Regions from separate parts of the Homo sapiens genome. Here all the other regions are linked to region 1. The links are contacts of gene promoters, found by promoter capture Hi-C in blood cells and fetal thymus (Javierre and others, 2016). All regions are on one chromosome and are shown on one strand. Each heading gives the region's core, a stretch centred on a gene start or on the middle of the fragment in contact. The rest is flanking DNA. Distances are from core to core; before and after follow the strand shown. Region 1 holds the start of TXK (TXK tyrosine kinase). Region 2 overlaps CORIN (corin, serine peptidase). Region 3 overlaps FRYL (FRY like transcription coactivator). Region 4 overlaps FRYL (FRY like transcription coactivator). Region 5 overlaps FRYL (FRY like transcription coactivator). Region 6 overlaps FRYL (FRY like transcription coactivator). Region 7 has its middle 18 kb from the start of SLC10A4.

Region 1 (3,901 bases), core at 1,022-3,521:
CTACTTCTAAGCCTTAAGAATATTCCCTGGGACACAGACACTATAATTGGAAGTGCTGAGCTCTGGGGCAGAAGGATCAGGTGACCTTCGCAACAAAGTTTGCCCCCACCTCACATAGGACCCGGAAGCAGCCTGAGCTGTGGCGGAGGATCCAGGAAGCTACGGAGAGAAGCAGCCAGCATGGTGTTCCGTGCCTCCCGGACGTTTTTCAGGAGGCCTGGTTGGACTTGGGTTCCTGGATGGTGGGATTGTTGTACAGCCTCTCAGGAGACCCTGCTGTCAAGACTGTGTGTGTGGATTTCTCACCCTTAGAAGCTCTACTAAGACATCAACGGAATTAGGGCCTTCCTTTTTGCCTTGTGAGCGCCAAGGAAAAGAAACTATCTCGGTCACGTGAGCGCCAGCGAAAAGAAACTGTATCAGTCATCCAGAGACCGTTTATTGCCCAACACGTTATTCTTGCTGTTGGTGGGGTAACTAGCCGAGGAAGACACAGCGCCTTCCCTTCAGGAGTTGCGTCTCCTCTGCAGGCCACGATGGTCTGCTCTGGAGCATTGGGTGAACACACAGGCTGGCTGCTCTGGGCAGCGCCTTCACTCTGACCCTGGAGAACCATTTCATTTCATCCTGGTCAGTCTAGAGTCTGTGCACCAGGCAGTCCATCCACTGAAGGCTGTGTTTATTCTTTTCCTGTGCCCCTCATAATGGAAGAAAGTAAACTGCTTATCCCGAGCCTTATCACAATCTGCCACATTCCTTCTTGTCTACCTGTTTAACTGTACCCCCATCACAAAAACAGGCACAACTTTTTTTTTACATTCCAGGGTACATGTGCAGGATGTGCAGTTTTGTTACATAGGTGAACGTGTGCCATGGTGGTTTGCTGCACCTATCAAAAACTCATCACCTAGGTATGCATTAGCTATTTTTCCTGATATTAGCCTGATATATATATTTCCTGATATTAGCCTGGCATGCATTAGCTATTTTTCCTGATGCTCTCCCCTCATCTGCCCTCCCCAACAGGCCCCAGTATGTGTTGTTCCCCTCCCTGTGTCCATGTGTTTCATGGTTCAGTTCCCACTTATAAGTGAGAACATGTGGTGTTTGGTTTTCTGTTCCTGCATTACTTTGCTAAGGATAACGGCTTCCAGTTCCATCCATGTCCCTGCAAAGGACATGATTTCATTCTGTATAGCTGCATAATATTCCACGGTGTATATGTACCACATTTTCTTTATCCAGCCTATCATTGATGGGCATTTTGGTTGCTAACCATGCACAACTTTTAACTGACTTGTAGCTCATTGAAGGAGTCGGTCCTGGCACACTCTACCTTACTATCACTGTCAGCCTTTTCTCCTTCCTTCCTGACCTTCCCTCCTCCCATCCCATACTTCCCTTTTCACCTTGAGGAGCTACGGGAAGTACTAGGTGGTATGAAAGAGAGTGAGGAGAAGATAGAGTCCCTGTCCTAATGGTCAGTGTATGCTTTTTATGGGAAAACAAGATAGATAGCACCTGGCAACATTTGTCAACATTTCCTTCAAAAATCTTTAAATATTTTTCACTAAGACTTAGAAAAAAAGTTTTATACGAAAGCATAACAAAGGCAAAAGGTGAAGTAAAAATAACAGTCATCACCCAGAATGCTAAGGAGACCTTAATCTAAACCAGGAAATTGGAAGGGCGATTAGAATATGCTGTGTCTTCATTAAAGTTGCTCTGTTAATTAGTTGACACATGGTTATGCTTTCCAGTGGGATGAAGTGAAACTCCCAAGTGTGTTTTGTATTGTTGGTGTTTTTATATTTCTCAGCCATCCCCCAATCACATTTTAGGGTTATTACTAGATTGACTTCCCCCAAATAAAGTGTCTGCTGAGTGGGAGGATGGAACATTCTAAACTCAATATTCCAGAGCCTAGAATCTAATTGTTTCTGCCACTCACGGTGTGGCCTTGGGCAAGTCCCTTATTCTGTCTGTGCCTTCATTTCCTTCCCAGTCCAGAGAGGGCAGTTTGATTTGATAATTTTAAAGGTGCCTTTTACCAAAATTTTGTGATTTCTTGAAAATGATGTTTGCGAGTCACCCACACCTTTGGGGATGAGAGACTAATAGCAGATACCCTCAGAGATTGGGATGGAGATTACTGAGCTTTCTTATATATGCCATTGGTTGTCATTTATACTCTTCTGAGGTTTTCAGAACAGGAAAATAGGTGGGGTTAACTCTGCCCGTGAGAAACATCTTGAGCGAACTATGATTTCAGTTGAAAGATGTGTTTTTGTGAGTAGAGCACCGCAGAAGAACTGAAGACTGTTGTGTGCTCCCCGCAGAAGGGGCTACCATGATCCTTTCCTCCTGTGAGTAAGATGGGCTTTGTCATTTATTTTTGGGGCTTGTTCTGGGGCCTGTTATTCTTGAACAGCAGAGGAAGTTTTTTTTTTCCAAGGCATAGAGCTTGGGGACATTAAAAGATAATTTCCTCAGATGTTGTGACAGAGTTTTGTTTCTTATTTAAAGAACCACAGTGATGATGTAATTCTAATAAAGGTTCAGCATTGAGAACATAAATGAAAGAAAAACAGAAAGAGTGTCCAGAAATCTGCATATGTGTGTGTAGAAATGCAATCAGTATGAAGTACTTGTTTTTAGAATGAGACTGTAATGAGCTCTGGGCTGAAGGCCAGGAGACCAAGTTCTAGTTCTGGATTTGCTCCAGCAGTGGTGGATCACAGTGGGCAACTTTATATATATATAAATACACACACATACACACACACACAAATAAATATCTATATTTAAGGCAAAAGGAAGAGAAGTCAAAACACAACTGTGTTTATACTCTGAAATTATCTGCTTTATCAAGTAAACATATAGACTTAACCTTTATTTTCACAGGGGTATTTATTCACAATTCTATGTAGACTTCCGTTATCGAGGACCTTTCCCAAGCAATTGAAATTTAGGCAAAACTGATTCTTATCTGCAGTCAGAGCCTGAGTAAAGGCCAAAATAAGAGTCAAAGTCACGAGTCTCTACCTGGTTAAAAGTGTGAACATGGTCAAGTGTGAACACTGGCTCAAATGTCTCTTTCCCTCATATATAATACTACATATGAAGATGTTATTTTAATATTTTTATAGAATATAAGACCATCATTAAAAATAAGTGCTTGTTTTAGGAGAACAGAGAAAGATTCCCTAGACACTGTTATCTGTGAAGATCCTTGGTTTGAAAGAGCTGTGGGGGATGCTTATAAATCCAAAGAAATTAGAATAAAAAAAAAAACCAAGCAGAATAGTCTTCTAAATAAGAAGGCAGCCGTCATATCAGAATTGCAATGTGTTTGTTTCTTTATAAAGGTATTTATTGAGCACCTACTATGGGCCATGGTCTATACCAGTTCCTTTATATTCATTATCTGAAATCTTCACTACAAACTGGCAAGGTGAAAATTGTTATTCTTATCTAGCCAATAAGAAAATTGTGCCTTTGAAAGTTTAAATCTTGCCAGAAACTCATATGGTTGTCAGACGCAGGATTTAAGTATGAGACTTTTTTTTTTTTTTTAGACAGAGTCTTGCTCTGTCACCCAGGCTGGAGTGCAGTGGCACGATCTCAGCTCACTGCAACCTCCACCTCCTGGGTTCAAGTGGTTCTCCTGCCTCAGCCTCCCGAGTAGCTGGGACTACAGGCGCATGCCACCATGCCTGGCTAGTTTTTCTATTTGTAGTAGAGACAGGGTTTCACCATGTTGGCCAGGTTGGTCTCAAACTCCTGACCTCAAGTGATTTGCCTCAGCCTCCCAAAGTGCTGGGATTACAGGCATGAGCCACCACACGCGGCCAAGCATGAGACTTGCCAGACTCGGGATTTAAGTGCTCTTCCTTTTGCC
Region 2 (3,901 bases), core at 940-3,439, 460 kb after region 1:
TTGGCTTCTACTGCTCTTTAAATGTATTTTAGCTGGGCGTGGTAGCACATGCCTGTAATCCCAGCACTTTGGGTGGCCGAGGCAGGAGAATTACTTGAGACCAGGAGTTTGAGACTAGCCTGGGCAATATAGCAAGACCCCCATCTCTATGAAACAATAAATAAGTAAAAATAAATATGTCTTCCATAAAGCAGTGATCACACAGCATCAGAAGGTTTTGTTCAGGATGATACCTCTATCAGAGCACAAGCCACTTCCCAGGGGGTATTATGCCCTTTTATGTTTTAATGCTCAGTGCCTAGCTTGTCACATAGATTGTCACATGGCATGCACTTAATATTTGCCAAAATAATGAATGCATGATGTCAATAAAACCTCCTCAAGAGCCTAAACTCACAGAAATTGTTTAGGTTTGCTTTGAGAAAAAATTTTGACCCTGCTGACATTAAAAAAAGAGTGACATCTCTTTTCTGCAAGGCTTTGTGTATTAATTTGCACATTAGTGGTACTGGAAAGGATAAATATTTCAGTATAATAAACATCATCTTAGAATTATAGGTAAGAATGATTATACATACACACATACTATTATTTATACTTAAAAGTGCCTTGCAAGGTTGACTAGATTCCAGATGACATGCCTGAAGGTAATTGATCGTAATGGGGGAGAGAGTGAATGGGCAGTAATTTATTACCTTCTCCATTTAATCTACAAATGACCAGGGAATCAAGGAAAAGCAGTTTCCTCTCTACCTACCTTAAGGAAAAATCATTAGGGCAAACACTGATACTACTGCTGTCATTCACTTAGAAACAAGAAACCCAGTTCTCAAGTCATCACAGCTAGGCTGATGACACTTTCCAAGGACATATTGAAAATATGGATAACAGCTGCATAACACTTGTATTATGGTAAAGTATCCTTATTGTATTGGTGTTGATGCCCTATTTATTACTAGAGAAAGCATTTTCCTTAGAGGGAGACTAGAATTGGGAGCAAATGAGTCTTAAAAAAGTGTCACTTAATATTCAGAATTTCAAGATTTTTATAACGTTCTCTGTCCCTCAAATCTCTTGAATTTTATTTTGTAATCAAGTGTTGGCACCCATGTAAAAAGAAAACACTATTTTTTTCCCATTAAATGCAACAACCACCTGTTTTTAGTGTAGTTTGTCTCTTATTTCTTCATTCCTATTTTGGAATACCTGGATTGTATTTAATTACCAGGAAAATGAATCCAGAAAGCACCTATTCAACGTACGTTCAATACTTTTGGAGAAATTGGAAGGAAATTAAAGTTGTGTTATTCCTCAGCTCCATCAGACATTCCTGATCTTTTAGATCCTTAGGTAAGGAATTTGTAGATGATGAAAGCCAATGTGCCTTTTCCTCCCTCTGTAGTTCAGACTTCATGTCAAGAAGGAGACCAAAGATGCCTCTACAATCCCTGCCTTGATTCATGTGGTGGTAGCTCTCTCTGTGACCCGAACAACAGTCTGAATAACTGTAGTAAGTACAACAGCTGACAAATGCAATAGCCATGTCAGGGCATGCATTCAGCATTTTTCTTCTGCATTGACATTCAAATACTGAAGTCTGGAATCCCTCCAAAAAAGCCTACCTATTTTCTTTTTCTTTTTAAAAGGTCGCATGTGGTAGCAGTAAAGAAACCAAATGGTCTTAATTAACTTCAATCAGAAACAAATGTGTCATTGCGAACGCCTATAAGTCCACATTGCTTAATATCATTACCATTACTTTCAACTCAGCATTAGTTCTCTGTATTATTTTCTTGGCTCCATCTGTAGGCAGATGCTATCTTTCTTCCTTTTTAAAGCATAGCTTCAAAAATGGAAACTTTAACCAAGAAGCAAATATGAAGTTCATAGAAATAGCCACATACAACTTTGGCAATCTGTTCTGTTTTTTTTGAGACACACTCTCACTCTGTCACCGAGGCTGGAGTGCAGTGGCCCCATCTTGGCTCACTGCAACCTCTGCCTTCCAAATTCAAGTGATTCTTCTGCCTCAGCCTCCACAGTAGCTAGGATTACAGGCGCTAAACACCCTCAGTGATCCATCTGCCTGGGCCTCCCAAAGTGCTGGGATTATAGGCAGTCGGTTCTTTTAATGAAATTTATTCTCGCCTTTCCAGGAACTCTGATGACCTGTAATGGTTTCGGAACCATTAGGCTAATTTGTTTCGGTGACAGTGTAACAGCTCCAAACGGTGTAAGCAGGTGGCTCTAAAATGACTTTCAGGAGGAGGAGTTATTTGGGGAAGACAGAATGGGCGGAAGTGAAAGAGCACCCTATGGACTCTCATGGAAAATGGAATCAGAAAATCCCCAGCGACTGATTTCTAGTAATGATTTCTGACTCCTGGGCTCTGTTTTCATGTTATACTCGCTTCTTTCACTTTTTCTAATGAACTTTTTGCTGCATTTTCAGGTTGGGATTAGAAATTTAAAAGCAGGTCAGTCAGTTTTCAGTTGGCAAGAGGATATTCCTTTTTTTTTTTTTTCTGAGACAGAGTCTGGCTCTGTCACCCAGGCTGGAGTGCAGTGGCACGATATCGGCTCACTGCAACCTCCGCCTCCCAGGTTCAAGCGATTCTCCTGCCTCAGCCTCCCAAGTAGCTGGGATTATAGGCACACACCACCACACCCAGCTAATTTATTTATTTATTTATTTATTTATTTATTTATTTATTTATTTATTTTTTGGTAAAGATGGCGTTTCACCATGTTGGTCAGGCAGGTCTCAAACTCCTGACCTCAAGTAATCCACTGGCCTTACAGGCGCGAGCCACTGCACCCAGCCAGGGTATTACTTCTTAACACATGTCCTCTCAGTCTAAGGCCCTTGGAAGCTGGGATGCTGAAAGTCTTCGGCCTTGCATTTGCTGCAGTTTCGCGGTCCTAATTTTTCTGGGTCACTGTAGAGCTTATAGTGAGTACCTCTATAACTGTTACAGAGTCTCAAGGGGGTGAAAAAAGGAGGCTGGGAAGGGGGTGTAGGCAGGCAGCTAATTAACCCAGACTGACAGGATTGACTGTGGCATTTAATAACTCTTTGCCTGGAAGCACATGCCCACCCCTCCTCCATTTCCCATATGAGAGAACAGTAGATATTAGTCAAGCCACAAAGTCAACACACTCAAACTGCCATTTTACTTCCTCTAAACTGATTTAAATAGAAACTGATTTAAATAGAACATATCTATAGATATGCATATATATGTGTATATATGTGTGTATATATATACACACACACACACACGTATAACATATTTGGGCCACTGTTTCCATTGTTTCATTTTACTCGTCTCTCAATCTGCCGTGGAAATTTTTCAGAGCGATTTCCTTACTTCACCTTCAACTTAAATAGTGACAGTGTCATCTCAAAGACATGTGTTTACTATTAAAGTTTTGGGGGTTGTTTGACATGGAATGACACTTACTATTAGACTCAAAAATGTAGAAAAGGCAATGTTAGCCTGTGTCAAATTTGGGTAGGAAGTGACTGGGTGTATGTTATCCTATTTTCTCTATATTTGAAATATTTCGAATTTTAAATATTTAAAATATGTTGTCTCCTGTCAAAAGAATAAATTGTAGGAAAGGCAACTGGATAACTCTTGGCTCATAGAGCTGACCAATATTTGTAGTGTGTACATGATGTTCCAAGCATCGGGATGGGCGCTGGGCTTTCTAGTGGTGGAGAAAGGAGACAGGCTTCTAGCTTCTTAGAAGTCACTTTTCAGTGTGGGAGAACATATTGTCATCTTCCCACTGATATATTCTACACTGTTGTTCTCTTTAAGCTCTTTAAATACACTCAGTTTACCTAGTGTCTCACTGTGTCACCAGCTTCCTCATTCATCATGTATATTCTTGC
Region 3 (3,901 bases), core at 980-3,479, 430 kb before region 1:
GCAAAATTAACATGTATTATTCTGATTTTGAGTATTAAGAATTTTTTATTTAAATCATAAAGTCCCATTTACTTCATCTTTTGTTTTCTTCAATATTTTCAGTGCAAGTGGTGGCCTTGATAATGAAACACATTTTCTCAACAACACTTTATTGGAATATGTAGATTTAACTAGACAACTCCTGGAAGCAGAAAATGAAAAAGACTCTGACACACTGAAGGATATACGATGCCATTTTAGTGCCTTAGTGGCGAATATTATTCAGAATGTTCCAGGTATTATTTTCAGTTTCTTAAAGCATTATTGAGTATTAAGGAACCGTCATATTTTTTCTTTCCTTGAGGTTTAATAATCTAAGTTGATAAAGTAACGTATGAACATACTGGAAAAATATGTCAGCATAACCTGGATGGCTGGAGTTTGTTTTCCCTTTGAATTATTGTCACTGATTAGAAATAAAAAAGCAACCCAGCATAGAATTTCAGTAATAATCAGGATACTGACACAAAAACCTGGAGAAATCAATAGAATAAGCTCTTTAGGATAGCCTTGTTTTAGATGCAATAAGCAGAGTGCAGTGTCTCATGATAATTGAGAATAAAATTAAGAAGATACTTTTGAATAATGGGAAAAGAGTATAGGCCATAAATACAAAATGTAACAAGGATACCGTGTTACTGATTTACCAGATATGTTCCAATTATTGAGTAGGGTCTATATCGACAGATACTGGTTTAGATACTAGGAAGATTAATATACACAATTACATTTTTAAAAGTTAAATTATTTACAACTGTAAGAAGTAATGTGACTAGCCTTTGGCATACACTATAAGTGTTTCTTTTTCTCTTTGAAAAATTAAAGTCACATTGTTATTTTGAATAGTATATACAGACAGTGGATACCTAAAGAACATGGGTTGTATTTTATAACAGGGTCATTAAGCACTTAATTACATATGTCAATTTCAACTGTAGGAGCCTTGTTTTCATCTTTGAAAGGAAAATGACACTGTCAAAGGAAAAGAGCATATTTTTTTCGAAATTTTCTGATCTGAAGCTCACTAATATAAAGATGTGGTTTAGTCTATTACTAAACACTTTTTTACAACTTCCACATTGGTTTATTGTGATACTGCTGAGTTTCTTCAAGAAGGATAGATGTAGAGAAATTATATAGTAGAATTTCAAAATGGGGGAAAAAAATCCTTGGAGATCATTTAAACCAGTGGTTTTCAAACTTTGGTGTTTCTCAAAGCCCTGAGGTTCTCTGATGCCATCCGCAGAAAGCAGCAGAATGTGTTTGGACACTAGGCCTGAACTGCCCTTTTATCTGTTTTATATACTGAGATTACATGTAAGCTTCCTTTAGCAGGAAAAGGCAGCTTTCCTGCTGAAAAAAAAAAATAGAAAGTTTGAAAACACGTATCTCGTCCAAAGCCCTTACTTACCAGTGAACCAAGATACAGAGGTGTGTCTGTGTTAAAATCTTGGCCAATCTTACCATATAGCCAGTGATAGCCCAGGGAGAAATGGACTCCTGGCCCCACCTCTGTGCCAGCCTTCATGTGCCATTGAGCCTGCCATGGAATTTCTGCTTGCAGAGATGCTCTATGTCATGTAATGCTGGGACAGGGTGACACAGACTGCAACTTTGTTTCTGTGATTTGCATATATATAAATGATCCCTGCTACCGCGGAGGTTTTTGATAGTTTAAAATGAAAACTTCTGCTTTCTTTTTTACACTATTACACATTCAATAACATGTTGGTATAAAAGTTAAAGCAAAAAGAAATGGAAATAAATGTTTTCTATCTTTTTTTATTCACAGTGCACCAGAGAAGAAGTATTTTTCCTCAACAGAGCCTTCGTCACAGTCTATTTATGCTGTTCAGTCACTGGGCAGGTCCTTTTAGCATCATGTTTACGCCCTTGGACAGATACAGTGATAGAAATATGCAAATTAATAGACATCAATACTGTGCGTTAAAGGTATTTACTTAGAAACCTGATTTCTTTTTTCTTAAGAGCAGAGTTAAGTATTTTTAAGTCTCTCAGTCACTAGTATTAAAAAGAGGATCTGAGAGTATTAAAATGTTTTTCTGCCATATTCAAAACTTATACCATAAGTTATATTTAAATACATAAAATACAATGAAAAACAGTTCCAGAATCTACTCAAATTTGATCACCATTATCTTAAAGAACTTAGGATTACTTGAAAGAAATGCCTTTTTTCCCTTACTTAATTACTTTTTCTTGGTCTTTTTATCTTCCCTTCCAGTACTGTTCAAACTCCATGTCTAATTTGGTATCATATTTACTTACTCATAATAAATTTCTCAGTTTTAAAAAATAATTTGTAAAGAAAAAAGATTAAAGTATTGTGACTAGATAAGTATTTTGCCTCTTCTCATTAAGCAACCAACATTTAACCTCTTAAATTTGTTAAATGTAATTCTAATATTATTATTTGAAGGCTATGTCTGCTGTACTGTGTTGTGGCCCTGTTGCAGATAATGTAGGACTTTCATCAGATGGCTATTTGTACAAATGGTTGGATAACATTTTGGATTCTCTGGACAAAAAGGTAATTATGACAATTTCCTTAAAGGTTCATAATAAGTTGTCATTGTATTATTTGCAGTTAATGTATGTTGCACTAAAAACAAGTCTTTTAAAAAAATAAGATAGGTTAGGATCATATGCAAAAAGCATATTATATAAAGTTAAATAGGATCCCATAATGTAAAAACGTTCCAATTCTTATGTATCATTAATTTGAATAATTTTCATTTCCCTTTTTATATTATAGGATTAATACAGTGGTATGTGTCTCTCAACAGGGTTCTAAGTCAATAAATAAAATACCAGCATAGAACATATTGAGCTGCATGGGAAAAATATGTTATTTGCTATGTTTCATTTCGTTTTTTTAACCACTTTCCATTTAATCATTCCTCCTTGCCCTCCACACTCTGCCTTCCTTACTCTCATATTGTACATATACAGACTTCACAATTTAAAATAGGACTTACATTTTTTCCCCTCAGAACAGTTTTTCTATTGGGTTATCAAAAACAAGAATAAAGCTTGATAAAAATAATTGGAGAGGTTAATGACTCATTTTTCTGAAAGCACCTAATCACTATTCATATTCATTAACTGCCTTCAGGGCTCTGTTGGAAGACAAAATCATACTAGAGAGGCTCGCGTAAAAAGCGAGAGGCCAAATTCAGTTCATCTGTGTGGTTTTTTCTGCTGGCTGAATAAAATGAGAGGGAGGTGAACAAAAGGAGATGGAATTTTTCTATTAATTACAATGAATATATGCACTATATTACTTTAGTAAGAACTATAGGGAAATAGACAAAAAATATATAACGTTCTCTCTCGGGCAATTTCACAACCTTTACCTAGGTTCACCAGCTGGGCTGTGAAGCAGTTACGTTGTTACTGGAGCTGAACCCTGATCAGAGCAACCTGATGTACTGGGCTGTGGACCGCTGCTACACGGGCTCCGGGAGGGTGGCGGCCGGCTGCTTTAAAGCCATTGCTAATGTTTTCCAGAACAGGTACTTTAGATACAGGTTTTTTGTTTCATTTTGTTCTGTTTTCTTAAAGAAAAGTTTTTCTTTTGAATTCAAAAATAGGAAGACACCAGTTTAGTTGTCCTTCAGTATCTGTGGGGGATTGGTTCCAGGACCCCTCTCAGATCCCAAAATCCATGGATGCTCTAGCCTTCTATATAAAATGCTGTAGTATTTGTATTTACTCTATGCAAATCCTCCCGTATACTCCTTTTTTTTTTTTTTTAGACATGGTCTCGCTGTCACCCAGGCTAGAGTGCAGTGGCATGATCATAGTTCACTGTAACCTCAAACTCCTAGGCTCAAGTGAT
Region 4 (3,901 bases), core at 1-2,500, 410 kb before region 1:
ATGCCACTTTATTCTAATTGGCGACTGAAAGTGATGGAGCATAACCAAGGAGAGCCACTGCCCTTCCCACCAGCTGGAGGCTGCTGGTCACCACTGGTGGATTACGTGCCTGAAACGTCATCACCTGGATTACCTCTTCACAGGTGGACTACAGCGTCATTCCTTTTACATATGCACCAAGTTGCTGCTGAACACTGTCGGCTTTCTTTGTGCTATCTGACAACACAGAATGAAAGCAATCTTCTTTATGGAGATACTGCAACACAGATCAATGTGTTTAGATTCTAAGAAATCTAAAAAACTCAGAATTCTAACTTTATAAAATTAATATTATTAAATCTAATTCTGCTGCTGCTTTTCTGGGTGTCTGGCATAGTTACTTGACCTTTCTGGGACCCAGTTACTACATCTGAAAAATATGACTTTCCTATGGTAGGCACTATTATTTTGCATCGAGTTAAATTGAATTCTACTTAGCAAAATCACAATAGAGCAATTACTGCATTCTTTCAAAATGTATTAATGCACCAAACATGTATTGAACACCTACTGTGGCAAGCAGTGTGCTAAGTCTCAAGGTTGAAAGATGAAGAAAATGTGGCTCCTGAGTTCAAGGAACCCTTAGCCCTTATGTTCTGTTCCATCTCTTTAACTTAATGGTTAACGTTTTCTTCAGCTGTATTTGTTTTTCCTCCTTTTTCCTTGATAAGTTGTATTTTTCCATGAAATGTGATATTAAAGTCTTCAAGTAATTTTGTACCAAATTCTCTCTAGGTTTACTGAGATCTAGTAAAACGTTAATGAAACTCTTATTTGTCATAGGTGTAACATAGCAGTGATCCTTTTGACTGATCTCATCATTGATCATAGTGTGAAGGTGGAATGGGGAAGCTACCTCCATCTTCTTCTTCATGCAATTTTTATAGGTAATAAATATTTGGTTCTAATTCTTTCATGTTATATTTTTATGATAATTTAAAAGCAGTATGGTTTTATGACAGTTTTTATGTGTTTCTGTTTCCTGTTATTTTTATGTTATTTCCATGACACTTTTCACTATGATTCCTCTGGTCTCTTGGGGAGTTATGTCTGGCCCCTCTTCTAACCACAAACAAACATGTCTATTACCCCCATTCCTATTCCTATCTTATGGCCTCGCCTGCCCACACACAAACACACATATACTATACCAAGGAAAAATTCTGTGGCTGTGGCAAGAGTCAAATTAACTTAACTCTGGGATTGGAAACTTTCAGAGTGAATGAAAAGTTGAGATAGGTTCTAAGTATTTCCCAAAAGAACTGGGTTGTTGGATAGCCTCATTATTATACCTGAAACTCCATCGTGCCTTCTGTAGCAAACATGTGGGATCTACCATATCTATAATACATTTGATGCTTATAGGATTGGCTTCCTGAAGCAAGTCCAGATAGCCATCTCCTTATAAGTTTTCCTGATGGGCACACTTAATGTTGGTGTATTACATCATTCCTTCAGTTAATCATGTACTTTCTGTTATGTGCTAAGCACACAAAAAACCCTGCCTTTAAAAAAAAAAATTCATTTCCATGAATTTTTTTATGTTATGTAACAGAAATAATTTTTAAGAGATCACTAAATTTTAGACATGAAACACATTTAGCTTACCTTGAGTCTCCCTAGTACTATAAGACAGTAGGCTATTGTAAAAGTATATAAGAACTCTAGGGCAATAAAAAACCATATAATATGTCACCTTCCATGAAATCTTTCATATAATTTCTCCTTTTCTTCAAAATGTGAGTTTGGTAGTAAGAATACTCATTATTTCTCTTTATTGATAATGTTTCTCTACTATCCTTTTTAGGGTTTGACCACTGCCACCCTGAGGTGTATGAACATTGTAAACGCCTGCTTCTGCACTTATTAATAGTAATGGGACCCAATAGTAACATCCGAACTGTTGCTTCTGTCCTTCTCAGGAACAAGGAGTTTAATGAGCCCAGGGTGCTTACAGTCAAACAAGTTGCACACTTAGATTATAATTTCACAGGTATTTGCTTTAAATGTACAATTTGAAAGTAGAATTATACTTTATTAATTTGGAATCCTGCATTAGAGAAAGTCAACTGAATAAAAGTTGAAATACTAGAGAACATTTTAAAAATGTAGTTGTATTATTTTAAGTACCATTTAAATTATTTGCTAATAAAAGAAGGGATTAAATTTAAAATATTTGAGTCTGCATTACCTCGAACGATCTTTATCGAGATTTAACTTAGGAATATGTAAGTTGAAGACATAATGAAACTGCTTAATTTATTGAGGACGAATTACGAAAAAGATGTTGAGCTTGTATTAGATTCCTCTTATTTGCAGGATCTGAAAACTGATAAAGTAAGGCATTTTAAATTTTGTTATTCTCGTGATTATATTTACTGCATTAAAAACATACATTTTGAAGTAGTGAAGTCCAAGTTAATGAGACTTAATATGGTTTATTTCACTGTCAATGTTAATTTTTGTTTTTTACTTTTAAGGTATATTTTCTTATATCCTATAACTAACATTTCTTTCATTCATCAGTACCATCAGGCTAATAACAAGTGATCTAGAAACTTTTTTTTCAAAATTGCAATAAAATTACCTTTTTTTTTTCTAATCATACAGTGTCAGATACAGGGTTCATCAATTTTAAAGTTAGTTAAAACCCTGTTATTTATTTAAAATCCTATAGTTAGGAAACAATTATTAGGAAACTTATTAGCCTTTTAAAACTATGATTAAAAGAAAAATGGAATGAAGTTTACTGCCTTTTTATATTAAGGCACCATTATTCAAAATTCCATAGCTTGTTTGTTTTTAAGGCTTCTCTTACCAATTTGTAAATATGGGCATTAGTAATAACCTTTAACAGTTTTTTAAAAAATGATTGATGCACTATGTGTATTTCAGATAGATGAGCCTTTCTGCAATGGAAATGGATCAAAAATTATAGAAAATTTTCTATAAAAAGTTAAAAATCAGTTCATATTATAGAAATGTGACTGACAAGCGATGTTGACAAAATATGCCAGAATATTAGGAAACTGCCACTTGCAAGTTTCTTCAGCAGATGGCGGCAGAGGACTGCATAGTACATCCAAATTGCTAAGTTTTCAAGCTGTGAAACAATGTTTGCCCCAAAACTTACTTGCTGTAATTTGGTGTTCATGAGGATCAGCAGGAGCACTGATTCACATCACCTTGCACTGACAGATTGCCTCATGTGTCCCATAGAGTCTAAGGAACAACAGTTTAATTCTATAGGTATTTTGTGAGATTCTTTCATGTTTTAGGTATTCATGACGATCTTTCTCTTTCAGCAGGCATTAACGATTTTATACCTGATTACCAGCCCTCCCCTATGACTGACTCAGGGCTTAGCTCAAGTTCTACCTCTTCTAGTATCAGCTTAGGAAATAACAGTGCTGCCATTTCACATCTGCACACCACTATCCTCAATGAGGTTGACATCTCAGTGGAGCAGGATGGAAAAGTCAAAACCCTCATGGAATTCATTACCTCAAGGTAACACTGGCAGCTCTTATCATCCCAGCAGTGTATGTGTTAAGTCATTCTTTCATTGATCAGGTATTATGAGCCATATTTTTGTTGTCTGAAATACCATTGATGTGAAATACACAGGTTTGTATTGCACAGTATTTTGAAAATTAGGATGCAATCAAAGACTCTTTTGTGCCAGTGCAGTTATACCTCAGGACTTTAATCATATCTGGCTATTTAATGGCCAAAGAGAATGAGTATTATCTGAATATATATTTCACTTTTATTAGCTACATTATCATTCAGTCATCAAATATTTATTTATGGTCTACTCTTTGCAAGACACAATAAGTAGAGAGGGAATATAGGTGGGGAG
Region 5 (3,901 bases), core at 1-2,500, 390 kb before region 1:
TGTGTTCAACTAGTTAAACATGAAGACCAAATTTAAGCTGTGAATTCATTGAAGAATGAGGCCTGCGGTGGCTTTGGGGTACTGATACCTCATACGCAGAGTGACAAATCTGATGGATGGACTTTTTTTTTTTTTTTAATCGGGCATCAGGTTGTATTTTCTTCTAATGAGGATTTGGAAGTCGGTGACCAACAGACTAGCCTAATTTCTACAACAGAAGACATAAATCAAGAGGAAGAAGTAGCTGTGGAAGATAATAGCAGTGAACAACAGTTTGGTGTTTTTAAGGATTTTGACTTTTTAGATGTTGAATTGGAAGATGCAGAGGTAAGGATGTGGGCTTTCTCTGTTAATATTTATAGAACAGTTGTATGAGAATTAAGGATTTGATCACAGGATCATTCCTTATTGAGGTCAGTGTAAGGTCAAAAAGGTAAAAATCTAAATTAGGAATTAAATTTGATTACCACAATTAGTCAATAGAATAAGTCTGAGATAAAAGAGAAACATTCCATTTTTCATCTTTATCTTTAAAAATATAAAATTAAAAAATGGCTTCCTTCAAAATTATTTTCAGGGTATGCTTAGACTTAAATGTTTTGCATGATTTGTCTTACAAACTAATATGCAGCCAAATGGTAAAAATTTATATGAGAATTGATTAAGGACAACTTTAAAGAGAGTTGCACTTACCACTAAATTGCACATTCATCAACTCTCATGTACATATACATATACTACTCATATACAGCTCATACACATTCATCAATTCTCATGTACATATACATATACTACTCATATACACACTTACCACTAAATTGACATATCACAAAGGGTTTGTCTTTCTAGAACTCTTCCCTTTGGCAAATGACTGAGCTTCTTTCTTTGACATTCGAAATCACTTTCTTCTTTATGATGTAGGTAACTCTCTCAAATGCCTGGTTTCATTTAATACTCAAAGCGTTTCTCTTCTAAATTGATTTAGTCTGGATTACATTATATTGGTAGTTATGTCAGTTGAGATGCTTTCTAAATGGAATTTAAAACTCAGAAAGTAGATTTATTAGCCCACAAAACTAGTCCAGAATTAGAGCTTATATTTAGATATGGCTCAATGAAGTTTCTGGCTGTTTATCTGCAGTTCTCTAGGCTCTCCCCTTCTCTGCCAGTCAGCTTGACCTCAGATAGCAGCAAAACCGTCTTCATTGCTGGGTAATCTTAGCCCCACACACAGCAGTGTTTGAAGGAGGTGAGGGTCACATCCAGAAATGCTCTCAGAAAAGTAAGGAAGCTGCTTTCCTAAATGGTCTTAGCAAACTTCTTGTAACATCTCATTGGCCCAAATTAGGACACATGCTACTTTCTGAAACAACCACTCTAGTGAATAGAATAGGATTACCCTGGTTGTCTTAGGCTATTAGAGATCCATTTCTGTAGCTGAGCTCAGTTCCCTAAACCACAGTCTCTTAACCCTGAAAGTTTATATCAAATAGATTTGTTTTAAACATGTACATTTTGAAATTGCTACAAATATCTGTATGCAAGAAGACCAAAATGCCTTAATACCAAGTATCTGTATACCATATCTTGATGTATCTTTTTCTAAAGAATCAAAACTCATAGCTCAAATACATTTAGCTCTCATATACATATACATATACTATTCATATACAGCTCATACACATTCATCAGCTCATATACATACACATATACAACTCATATACAGCTCATACACATTCATCAACTCTCATGTACATATACATGTACTACTAATATACAGCTCATACACATTCATCAGCTCTCATATACATACACATATACAACTCATATACAGCTCATACACATTCATCAACTCTCATGTACATATACATATACTACTCATATACAGCTCATACACATTCATCAACTCATGTACATATATACATATACTACTCATATACAGCTCATACACATTCATCAACTCTCATGTACATATACTACTCATATACAGCTCATACACATTCATCAGCTCTCGTATACATATACAACTCATACAGATCATACACATCCATCAACTCTCATGTACATATACATATACAACTCATATACAGCTCATACACATTCATCAGCTCTCGTATACATATACATATACAACTCATACAGATCATACACACTGATCAACTCTCATGTACATATACATATACAACTCATATACAGCTTATACACATTCATCAGCTCTTCTTGTAGGGGTGTTTCCTTTGGCTCTAATAGGTGAGGCGGAGGAATGAAATGTAATGCACTCTCCCGTATCACACTGTTCATTGTCCATGGAAGACCAGTTTGAGGAAGTAAAGTTCCCTCTCCTCAACATGCCTCAGTGCCCCCTGCAGATGTGAGGATGTGACCATGGTGCCTCCAAGTAATGCAAATGCCTTCATGTCAGTTTAGGAGCTGTGTAGGCTCCTATGGAATACTCCACCATTTACATTTTCCCAAAGACACAATTGTACAGGTTCATAGGAACTCAAGAACAGGTATTATTTAGCACCTTTCAGAGCAGTAGCTTTTAAACTTTTTTTTGACACTAATCCACAGTTAATACATTTTACATCACATCCAAGTGTGTGTATATATATATATATATATATATATATATATATACCTTTAAAAATAAAAGTTGCAAGAATATGCATCCAAACTCTATGCTGTGCATACTGATATTTTCTATTCTCTTCCTTTTCATTCTTTTTTTTTTTTTTTCAAAAAGTGTAGGTTACCACCCTAAAATTAGTTTCACACTCATCATTTGAAAAAATATATTGTAGGAAATAGAACAGACTTGCACAACCAAGTAACGGAGTGGAATAGGTTAAAGAGACCTGCTGCCCTACCCAAGGCCAGGAGCAGCTTCTAAACTCTTCTGTAGTTAGTTGCTTTTTTCAGTCCAGAATTTAAATTTCTAAAGGCAGCTCTTGACATTTTTGTAATGGTAAGGTTATTTTTCTTTTTGTTTGCCTCTTGTTTAAAGAGAACTGTAAATGCTTTCAAGTTCATTCAGTGCTCTAAAATGTCAGTGGTAATAAACATGGCTTTTAATAGAACCTTAGAATGGACTAAGGATGTTCATTTGTAGTTCTGTCTTTAATTCAAGTCACAGTAATCAGGGGTGGGGTGGAGCACGCTAATTTATCCCTCATAATTACGCCAAATCAGCGATACACATTTTCTAAAACCTGGATATAGTCTTGTTTAAAACATGGTAATAGGAAATACTTTGATTGCTACAAAACAAACTTAACCACTAATGAAAATTATAATAAAATATCTCCTCACTTTGAAAGCCCACAGTGCATATTCATTCACTCACCAAATATATATTGAGTGCTGTTGCCATTATGTGTTTTGGTACATAATAATATTTGAAATGATATGTTCCAGGAAGGTGGTTTTCAAACTCTGACATGCAGGGCCCTAGGGCTTCCAAGATATCTTCAGAAACAGCCGGGACAGATTCAAAGATCCAATGGGCCAAGTTCCTGGACACCTTCAACCAGAGCAGCTCTGGTTTTCTGTTTTGCACAATTGACTGCCATCTAAAATTTCATTTGAAATAAGTATTCTTCTGCTTTCAAAAAAAAAAAAAAGATTTGAAAACTTCTAATCTGGACAATTCCTGTGTAAAGGGATACAGAAAAAAAAAATCATATTTTGGTAGCCAGCTCAATATAGTTTGTCATATCAGGGCCTAAGAAAAATTGTAGGGATTATATCCTTACAAAAGGAGGAGCAGCTTAGAATAACAGAAACATAACTTATATAAATCCTTAAGTGGGAGAAATTGAAATTTGTCATATTTCCTCTTGACCTTTTAAAATTGGCAACAGTTATGTTTTGATGGCTGTGATCTTGATTTTAAATTATA
Region 6 (3,901 bases), core at 409-2,908, 370 kb before region 1:
GTTCTCTTTTCTCCAGGATATTGGCCCTCAATATCTCACGATCTATCTATCTATCTATCTATCATCTATCTATCTTTGAAAACTGTTTTCCCAGCCCAGTGAAACTGTAGGGCATAAACTCTAGGCCACTGCTTTCTGTTCAGCCTCTATGCGCAGGGACGTGAATATGAATACACCTAGAGTAGAGTAAGCACTGGGGCGGGTATTGGGCTCACTCCGGTACTTTTCTCTAACTAACTAACTGTTTGTTTGAGTGAGTTTTGGCCGATAGGATTCAGCTTCCATCATTGTCCTTGCAGGATTGGTCTTTCTTTCTTTTATACAGGCTACTCCATCACACCCAGAAGTAGAACCTCGACAGTTAAAAATTTTAACCTTCATTTGAACCTTGAATAAAGAAAATGCCGTGACAGGAAGACTGATTGATTAGATGTGAACTGGAGGGTGTTCTGAGCACAAACTACCATGTCTTGTATGCTCTGGCTGGAAAGGTGTGGACCTGTATCTCTCAGGCCAGTGTGCAGCCACAGGACTATATGGTTGGGGTTTGTCTTTTAACAGAATAAAAATCAGCAATATTTTGAATAGTGCCCCCCAAAAGGCTGTATCATTAGGTACACAGTATAAAAATAAGCCATTAAATAAATAATCAACTGAAATTATTTTCAAATTTATTAGTATACTTGGACAAACTGGACAAGATAAGGCATAATTAAGTGTATAAATATTTTAACATTTTGTATGAATAAAGATTAATGCACAGGTTCCATGTTAGATGTCAACTGCATTTTGCTGATACAAAGAAATCCACTGATAGCTTTTGACAATGGCTGCCATCAGCTGTATCTCACTAGAAAAGCTTAACATGTTTTTCTTCAGAGATGCTGTCAAGCAAATAGCCTAAGGGCCGGTGAAATCTGAGAGACTGGAATAAAAGGAAAATAAGGTCAAAGAGATCATTTTTGAAATAACTGAAATGTCAAATTTCAATTCTTTCTTTGTGGGTACAACATAAGCTACAATAGAGAATGTTAAATGTCGAATACTAAAATACTTTCAGAGTAGCTGCTTAATGCAGCTAGTCTGTTTCTCAAAGTCCTAATGATTTCATATATATATATATATATATATATATATATATATATATATATATATATATATATTAGTTGTATTGTTTAATAGTATAATTTAAAAAAAAGAACTTAGAAGTCAAAACAACTGATAATATCAAACTGTCCAAAGCTAGGAGCTTACCTGGAATGCACTTAGCTTTTACTTCAGCTTGGAAATTCTGTGAGTCCAGCGTTCTTTCTTTTCTACTATACCACGGTGCTATTGTTTTATTTATATTTTGCTGAAGAAAATGTACTTTATTTTTGAAGTATTCCTTTTTTTTTATTTTATGTTTTTAGAGACAGGGTCTCCCTATGTTGCCCAGGATGGTCTTGAACTCCTGCCCTCTAGCAGTCCTCCCCGCTCAGCCTCCCAAAGCTCTGGGATTACAGGCAGGAGCCACCACACCCAGCCTGTACTTTTATATCAACATTAGGAATACCCCCAGAGAAGGAAAAACCACATTTGGCTTCTACATCCAGTATTGTTTGGAAATAAATAACATGTTTGTTTGTCATTCATTACTGTCCAAAAAGAAAGAAAAGAAAAACAAAACAAGACTTAAAATGGATCTTGATTGCCGGTTCACAAATTTAAAACTGACACTAGTCTTCTGAGAATTACACTTCTCATAAGCAAACAGACCTACTTAATTCTAAGTTGTCTTTATTAAATTGATCAGAGGGGAAGCACATCTTTCCTTTCCCCGTCTTACGTTACACAAAGGTCAGGCATAGGTTGTAAAGATTTTCATAAAACCTGCAAAATGAAGAATATCCTTTACTGAAATGGAACATCACAGGTCCCTAGAATGGAATGGGTTTTGTTAGTATAGCTGTCACAAGTGTGTGCCTCTTGTTACATTAATGCTATCCCTGCTTTTGTTAGTTCCATATAAATGATTGATTTGGCTTGAATGGAGATAAAAGTCTAGGTCTACAACCAATCCTAGAACTTCAAGTTAACTTTAAGTTTGGTGTTGTATATGGACAGGCTGTTACACTACCCATTTTACTGTGCATATTAAACGTTACTGTTACTTATTTTTAGTGGCTAGATGATTGTAAGAGGACATTTGGTGCCAAAGAAGACATGTATAGGATAAACACAGATGCACAAGTAAGTTTCTTGTTCCTGTTTTTGCAACATACATTTTCTGTATCAGGTAAAACAATGCATGTGTTCAAATATCCTTATTTGATTATTTCTAAAAATAAAGAATATTTGTAAAACTTTTCATTTTGGTTATCAAAACAATCTTTGTAAAAGCTCAATGAAATACTGGTTTCATAATGAAAAATTCACTTTAATAAAAATGAACGACCAGCTTGTGACTGAAGCTTAATAACATCCAATAGATAAGCTTGATGGATATCTGGACAGTCCAGGTCGGCTTTTAAGTTGCATGTGCCTCTTAAAGAAAAATTTGTCCCATGTTAGTATTCTGCTATTCTGTTAGATAAATTGGTCAAGAAAGCAAACCTAAGAATAATGTGATATAATATATCCATGTTAAAGGTAAAATTAGAATTGGATAAATTATAATGTTTTTCTTTAATATAAGGCTCAGTGAAAACAACAGCATTATATTTTCTTAGAAAGGTGCACATACATAAACACATACATTGTAGTAAGTGAGGATAAGTTAGGGCCTACAAATTATTCCAATGGAAGTGTAGCTTCACAGGGGAAAATACATTCATCAACTGAAATTTATTTCCATTTGACATCAGAATTCCAGTCTTTTATATTCTACCTTTGGTTATATTATTACAGATTTCTAGTGTCTGTAAAGGTTATACTATTATTAGGTTATACTATTTATTATAGTAAAAAATTGAAGTTCTGCAAAAACTGCAGTGTTGAGAAAATAATAGTATACTCGCTAAGTGTTAACTATTTGCCAGCCTCTATAGTTTCTTTATCCTTACAACTCAGGCAAGTAGTTGCTCTAATTATCCTGGTTTTGAAGATGAGGAAACTGAGGTTCAGAGATGCTAATTTATCTAAAATCAGCAAATAGTGAAACCAAGATTGAAACCTAGGCAGGCTGACTCCAAATCCTGCACTAATGTTAAAAAGAAACTGCTAAGTCATCTATGTAAAGAAATGAAGATAAGGAATTAACCCTAGACCAGAATCCTTTGGTTCTAATTCTGTCTGTCTTTGCCACTGTTTAACTGCATCACTTCGGCAAGTAATGTAACCTTTTTTCCTACAAAAACTAGGTGTTTATATTAAGTGATTTTTTTATATCCCCTCTACCTTGAAGAAAATTATATCCATCTTAAGATCAAGTCAGTTAACATAGCTTGAGGTTTTCTACGAAGTGGAAACTGAACATTTAACACTTTCATTTATATTTCAGCTCACCTTTCATATTCAACTGTTTTGAGGGTGGAAGACGCTTTTTATGCAATTTGATCTGTCCTTGTGTACCAGTCTTGTCTTTTGCATAATAAGCAGTCAAATATTTGTTAGATGAATAAAAGAATGTGCAAATTTTAATATACTTTAAAATGTGCATATATATACACACACACACACTCATCCACAAAAACTGCACTGTTTTAGCATATTTAGAGTAATTGCTGGTAATTCAGAGCTGTAAAATTCATTACATTTGTGTTATTTCCTACGATCATAAACTTTATCAGCAGTTTATGTTCCATTACATCCCAAAGTAGAGGCTATACATATATGCTTGTAGAATCAGTTCTACTTTATTTGTGCTAATAGAAGTGAGGAAAGGTATTTAAAATTCAAATTGTTAATTTCCATATGAAAT
Region 7 (3,901 bases), core at 729-3,228, 330 kb before region 1:
AACTACCAATTTTATAAAAGAGTCATTTACAAATTGCCTGTATCAGAATCCCTGTGGTGCTAGTTTAAAATGCAGATACCTGGACCCATCATTGAGTCTACTGAATCAGAATCTCTGAAGGAGGACTAGCATTTTTAACAAACTCTTGGTACTCTAGAGCTGAAGGAAGGGGCCCTGCTGGAAGCCATGTGCACACATGGCTGGATGTGGTCAGAACCATTTCCAAAGAGACACACTTAGCATGTAGAGCTAAGTGGGAGTATGGTTGGAAGGCTGGGGTGCAGACAGGAAGGGTGCACATTTCCACTGGGCTACAGAGATTTAGAATGACTGCAGTGTTAGAACTGAAGGAGAAATCTATGCTCTGCTTCACCATATTCCTTGTCAGCTAAGAAGCTCATGTCCCAGGACAAAAAAAAAATTGTCATCTTGCACCCCCTTCCTTGCCCAACTTTCTTTTATTTTTTATTTATTTTTTTATTTGTTTGTTTATTTATTTATTTATTTTTGAGATGGGGTCTCATTCTGTCGCCCAGACTGGAGTGCAGTGATGCAATCTTAGCTCACTGCAACCTCCGCCTCCGGAGCTCAAATCAATCCTCCCACCTCAGCCTCCAGATTAGCTGGGACTACAGCTGCGTGCCACCATACCCAGCTAATTTTTGTAGAGACAGGGTTTCACCATGTTGCCTAGGCTGGTCTTGAACTCCTGGGCTAAGGGATCTGCCCATCTCGGTCTCCCAAAGTGTTGGGATTACAAGTGTCAGTGACCCTGCTTGGCCCCCTTACCCCATTTTCACACAAGCTTTCCTGCCAAGATAAGTCAAGAGAAACTGCATTTTTTTTTTTCAAGCTAACTGTAGGCAAAATTGACCCTACTTATCCAAATAGGCCCAAGTTATTTCTGAGGCCTTTGCACTTTTTTTTTTCTCCCTTTATCCCACTTCTTAGCCCTACCCTCTCTTCTAACTCCCTGGCACCTTGTACCACCTCATTTTTCTAAATCCCAACTAAGTGTGTTCTCCCTTATCTACATCTCATGCCTCCCTTCTACCTAGTACAGGATGGAAGGACAGGCAGAAGCAGTTGGTGGGGGGCGGGGGGTGGACATGCTTTAAGGCAAACAGAGCCAAAGTCCCATCTGGAAGGAATTCCACCCCACTCTGTAACACTGTTGAGGAGAACCAAAGCCGGCACTACCTACAGACGAAGGCAGGACTTTACCTAGAAAACAGGCTGAACCCACTCCAACTCATGGTTCCATGATGAGTGAGATCCCCAGAGTTCCAGAGGATAACTTAGAAAACTTTGGCCTAGAAAAAGGCAGATGTTACGAGTTGTCTACCACAGCCATAGAAAAATCTCAAAAGTGGTCTGAAAGAAGATCTGTCTTCAGCAGTTGAACTTTGTGAACCTACCAGGGCCCCATATTCATTTTTTAAAAATCCTTTGCACCTATTCATATTAGGCAGTCAGTCCACAAATTATTTACTGAATATTTATCATGTGGCATCATCCTAGATTCTGAGAATACTAGTATGTAGATTGCATTACGTTTTTAAAAATAAGCTAACTTTAAGTGATTCTATAATCATATGCTATGAGGAAGAGAATATTTGGATAACCTGGCTGGGCATGGGTGGGGGTGGTTAGGAGAGCCCTGTCTCTGAAGGCAGCATTTGAGTTGGGACCTACCTAAGAGGAAGGTGGTAGCCATGTGAACTTCCAGGGGAAGGGCATTCCAAGCAGAAAGAAAACAATTGCAAAGACCTTGAAATGGGAAGAAGCTTGGCAAGTTTCAGGGACAGAATGAAGGCATCCAATACGTGTTTGTATTGAATGTGTGTATATTGAGTATCTCATAACACACATGACTGGGAGCGAGCCTCGGCAGAACTTGAACCATGGCATTAGTGCATTATCAATTACTTTCTTTTAATTCCGTGAGTATTTAGAATTGTCTCTTCCCCTCTCCCTCCCCCCACCCACCACACCCCAGTGGTAGGCACTGGACTAAATGTAGAAGATAAGAGATGCATCCTAAAGTGCCTGCCTTGAGCAGCTCCTAACTGGTGGTGGAGACAGATCCCTAAGGACACAGTTAAGGCAACTTTTTAAGTGAGTGACGGCCCTGGAGTGGGGATGTCACCAGGGCCTGTGGAAGCTTTCTTTCATTAGAGGAAGAAAGGCTAACTCCTCCAGGAGAAGGACAGAGAGCTTTTACATAAGAGGTGACCTTTGAGTTGAGCCTTTTAAGATGAATAGGATTTAACAAGATTAATTGTTCCTGGCAATACCTCAGACTAGATATTCTGAAAAATTCTCCAGCTACAAAACACCAAAACTGCTGAATTAAATACAATAAATAGTCTTTGAAAACCAGGAATGTAGCATCTGCCAATACTAGGAACCCAGAACCCTGGAGAGAGGCTGCGATGGGGGTAAGCAAAGACAGGGCACAAGAGACAGAACCCAGGGCATACACAGGTGGGGAGTAGGAAGTGGGACTGCCCACATAAAGCCAGAGCCTTGAAGGGCCACAGCCTCCTCACAAAGGTAGGAGAGGAAAAAGTATCTGTGCCTTAGCGAAGGCAAAGCACATAAAAATGTATCTTGTTCATCTCAGCCTAGGTGCTAGGGAAGAAAAAGAGAAAACAGAAATGTCTCCTGAGAGAATTAGTAATGACAGCCAGCCCAACTGTCACCCAGACTGGGGTTTGACTACACCAGTAACTCCATTTACATCCCAAAATTCCCAATGGCTCAAGAATGTACAGCACCATGTACTTGAGGAAGATGGGGCAAAGGATAGGCCAACATCAGGAGGTTTGTTAACGATGCACTTTGTTAGGTCCACCCTTAAGGTTTGTGGATTTCTCAGTATGTAAGTTATATCTCAATAAAACCTGTTTTCAAAGGAGGAGAAGAGGTTCAAGTGTGGGAGTAGGGGGAGAGGAGTAAAAGAAGAAGTAGAGGTTGTTAAATGTCCAGTTCTACACTCCAGTTTATGTGTCTGTACAACTTCCCTGTTATGGACTGAATGTTTATGTTCCCCCAAAATTCATATGTTAAAATCTTAACACCAATATGATAGTATTACAAGGTAGGGCTTTTGAGGGGATGATTAGGTCATGAGGGTGGAGCCCTCATGAATAGGATTAGTGCCCTTAAAAGGGATCCCAGAGAGCTCTCTCACTCTTTCTGCCATGTGCGGATGCAGTGAAAAGACAATATTCTGCAACCCAGAAGAAAGCCCTCACCACAGCCAATTTATACTGGCACCCAGAACTGTGAGATATACATTTCAATTGTTCATAAGCCACCCAGTCTATACTACTTGGTAGCAGCAGCCAGAACTGACTAAGATGCTCCTCTCGATGGGAGGTTTCTTCTCTGGAGAAGGTAAAAGAGTCTCTGCACTGGGGGATATCAGGAAGAGTTGAGGGCACAAATACGGTAAGCAGAAGAATAGGTGAACGTGTGCAAGCAGGATACTGTGCTTTCCATAGCTTCTTTCCTTCCACTTGGTTTTCAGAACCTACAAGCTGTGATCAAAAGATAATGACACTGAAGACCCCCTAATAAAATGGCCCAGCCAGACCACCCTTGATGCCTTTCAAACCATCCTCACACCATTCAGATGTCCCCTAGTTATTTTCAGAAATAATTTGAGACTTTACCTATGCATCATTTTTAAGATATTGGATTTGGGGTCATAAGTAAACATTTTTTCTCTATAAACTTCAGCTGAAAAATGTATTGAGAGGCTGCATTCTGTGAAGTTGGGAGTATTGAAAGCCAAGGGGTCTTCTAGCAGGAAAATATCACCAGAGGAATGCTCTGCCAGTCCCCTCATGCCCTGGAAATCCTTCCTCCAACTACACCATCCTAGAGCTGAGTG

The links. Contacts are between HindIII fragments. The CHiCAGO score rates a contact against its expected background, and 5 or more counts as called.
Region 2: a fragment that was not itself captured here is called in contact with the fragment with the promoter of TXK in region 1 in 1 of 17 cell types (naive B cells); the score reaches 6.3 in naive B cells.
Region 3: a fragment that was not itself captured here is called in contact with the fragment with the promoter of TXK in region 1 in 1 of 17 cell types (megakaryocytes); the score reaches 6.1 in megakaryocytes.
Region 4: a contact is called between a fragment that was not itself captured here and the fragment with the promoter of TXK in region 1, in 3 of 17 cell types (megakaryocytes, erythroblasts and fetal thymus). The highest score is 10.1, in megakaryocytes.
Region 5: a fragment that was not itself captured here is called in contact with the fragment with the promoter of TXK in region 1 in 2 of 17 cell types (erythroblasts and megakaryocytes); the score reaches 8.8 in erythroblasts.
Region 6: a fragment that was not itself captured here is called in contact with the fragment with the promoter of TXK in region 1 in 2 of 17 cell types (erythroblasts and megakaryocytes); the score reaches 11.9 in erythroblasts.
Region 7: a fragment that was not itself captured here is called in contact with the fragment with the promoter of TXK in region 1 in 1 of 17 cell types (erythroblasts); the score reaches 5.4 in erythroblasts.

What each region holds. Positions count from the first base shown.
Region 1 is chr4:48,132,620-48,136,520 of GRCh38, reverse strand. It overlaps TXK (TXK tyrosine kinase), which reads left to right and starts at 2,271. Exons shown (of 15, transcript NM_003328.3): 1 at 2,271-2,366. The coding sequence starts at 2,351. TEC (tec protein tyrosine kinase) reads left to right here. Exons shown (of 18, transcript NM_003215.3): 18 at 1-738. RefSeq lists a silencer at 2,535-2,829. The HindIII fragment of the contact is 7,086 bases long and covers 1-3,901 here.
Region 2 is chr4:47,672,002-47,675,902 of GRCh38, reverse strand. It overlaps CORIN (corin, serine peptidase), which reads left to right. Exons shown (of 22, transcript NM_006587.4): 10 at 1,403-1,510. Among named protein-coding and RNA genes, the nearest start is that of MIR8053, 21 kb to the right of the region's middle. The HindIII fragment of the contact is 5,425 bases long and covers 1-3,901 here.
Region 3 is chr4:48,563,622-48,567,522 of GRCh38, reverse strand. FRYL (FRY like transcription coactivator) reads left to right here. Exons shown (of 64, transcript NM_015030.2): 28 at 103-275; 29 at 1,832-1,992; 30 at 2,480-2,590; 31 at 3,421-3,575. Among named protein-coding and RNA genes, the nearest start is that of ZAR1, 75 kb to the right of the region's middle. The HindIII fragment of the contact is 1,731 bases long and covers 1,364-3,094 here.
Region 4 is chr4:48,545,715-48,549,615 of GRCh38, reverse strand. It overlaps FRYL (FRY like transcription coactivator), which reads left to right. Exons shown (of 64, transcript NM_015030.2): 39 at 1-143; 40 at 823-926; 41 at 1,847-2,032; 42 at 3,345-3,549. Among named protein-coding and RNA genes, the nearest start is that of ZAR1, 57 kb to the right of the region's middle. The HindIII fragment of the contact is 5,569 bases long and covers 1-3,901 here.
Region 5 is chr4:48,523,903-48,527,803 of GRCh38, reverse strand. FRYL (FRY like transcription coactivator) reads left to right here. Exons shown (of 64, transcript NM_015030.2): 53 at 151-327. Among named protein-coding and RNA genes, the nearest start is that of ZAR1, 36 kb to the right of the region's middle. The HindIII fragment of the contact is 5,857 bases long and covers 1-3,901 here.
Region 6 is chr4:48,503,878-48,507,778 of GRCh38, reverse strand. It overlaps FRYL (FRY like transcription coactivator), which reads left to right. Exons shown (of 64, transcript NM_015030.2): 60 at 2,164-2,232. Among named protein-coding and RNA genes, the nearest start is that of ZAR1, 16 kb to the right of the region's middle. The HindIII fragment of the contact is 1,594 bases long and covers 862-2,455 here.
Region 7 is chr4:48,462,917-48,466,817 of GRCh38, reverse strand. No RefSeq gene overlaps it. Among named protein-coding and RNA genes, the nearest start is that of SLC10A4, 18 kb to the left of the region's middle. The HindIII fragment of the contact is 377 bases long and covers 1,790-2,166 here.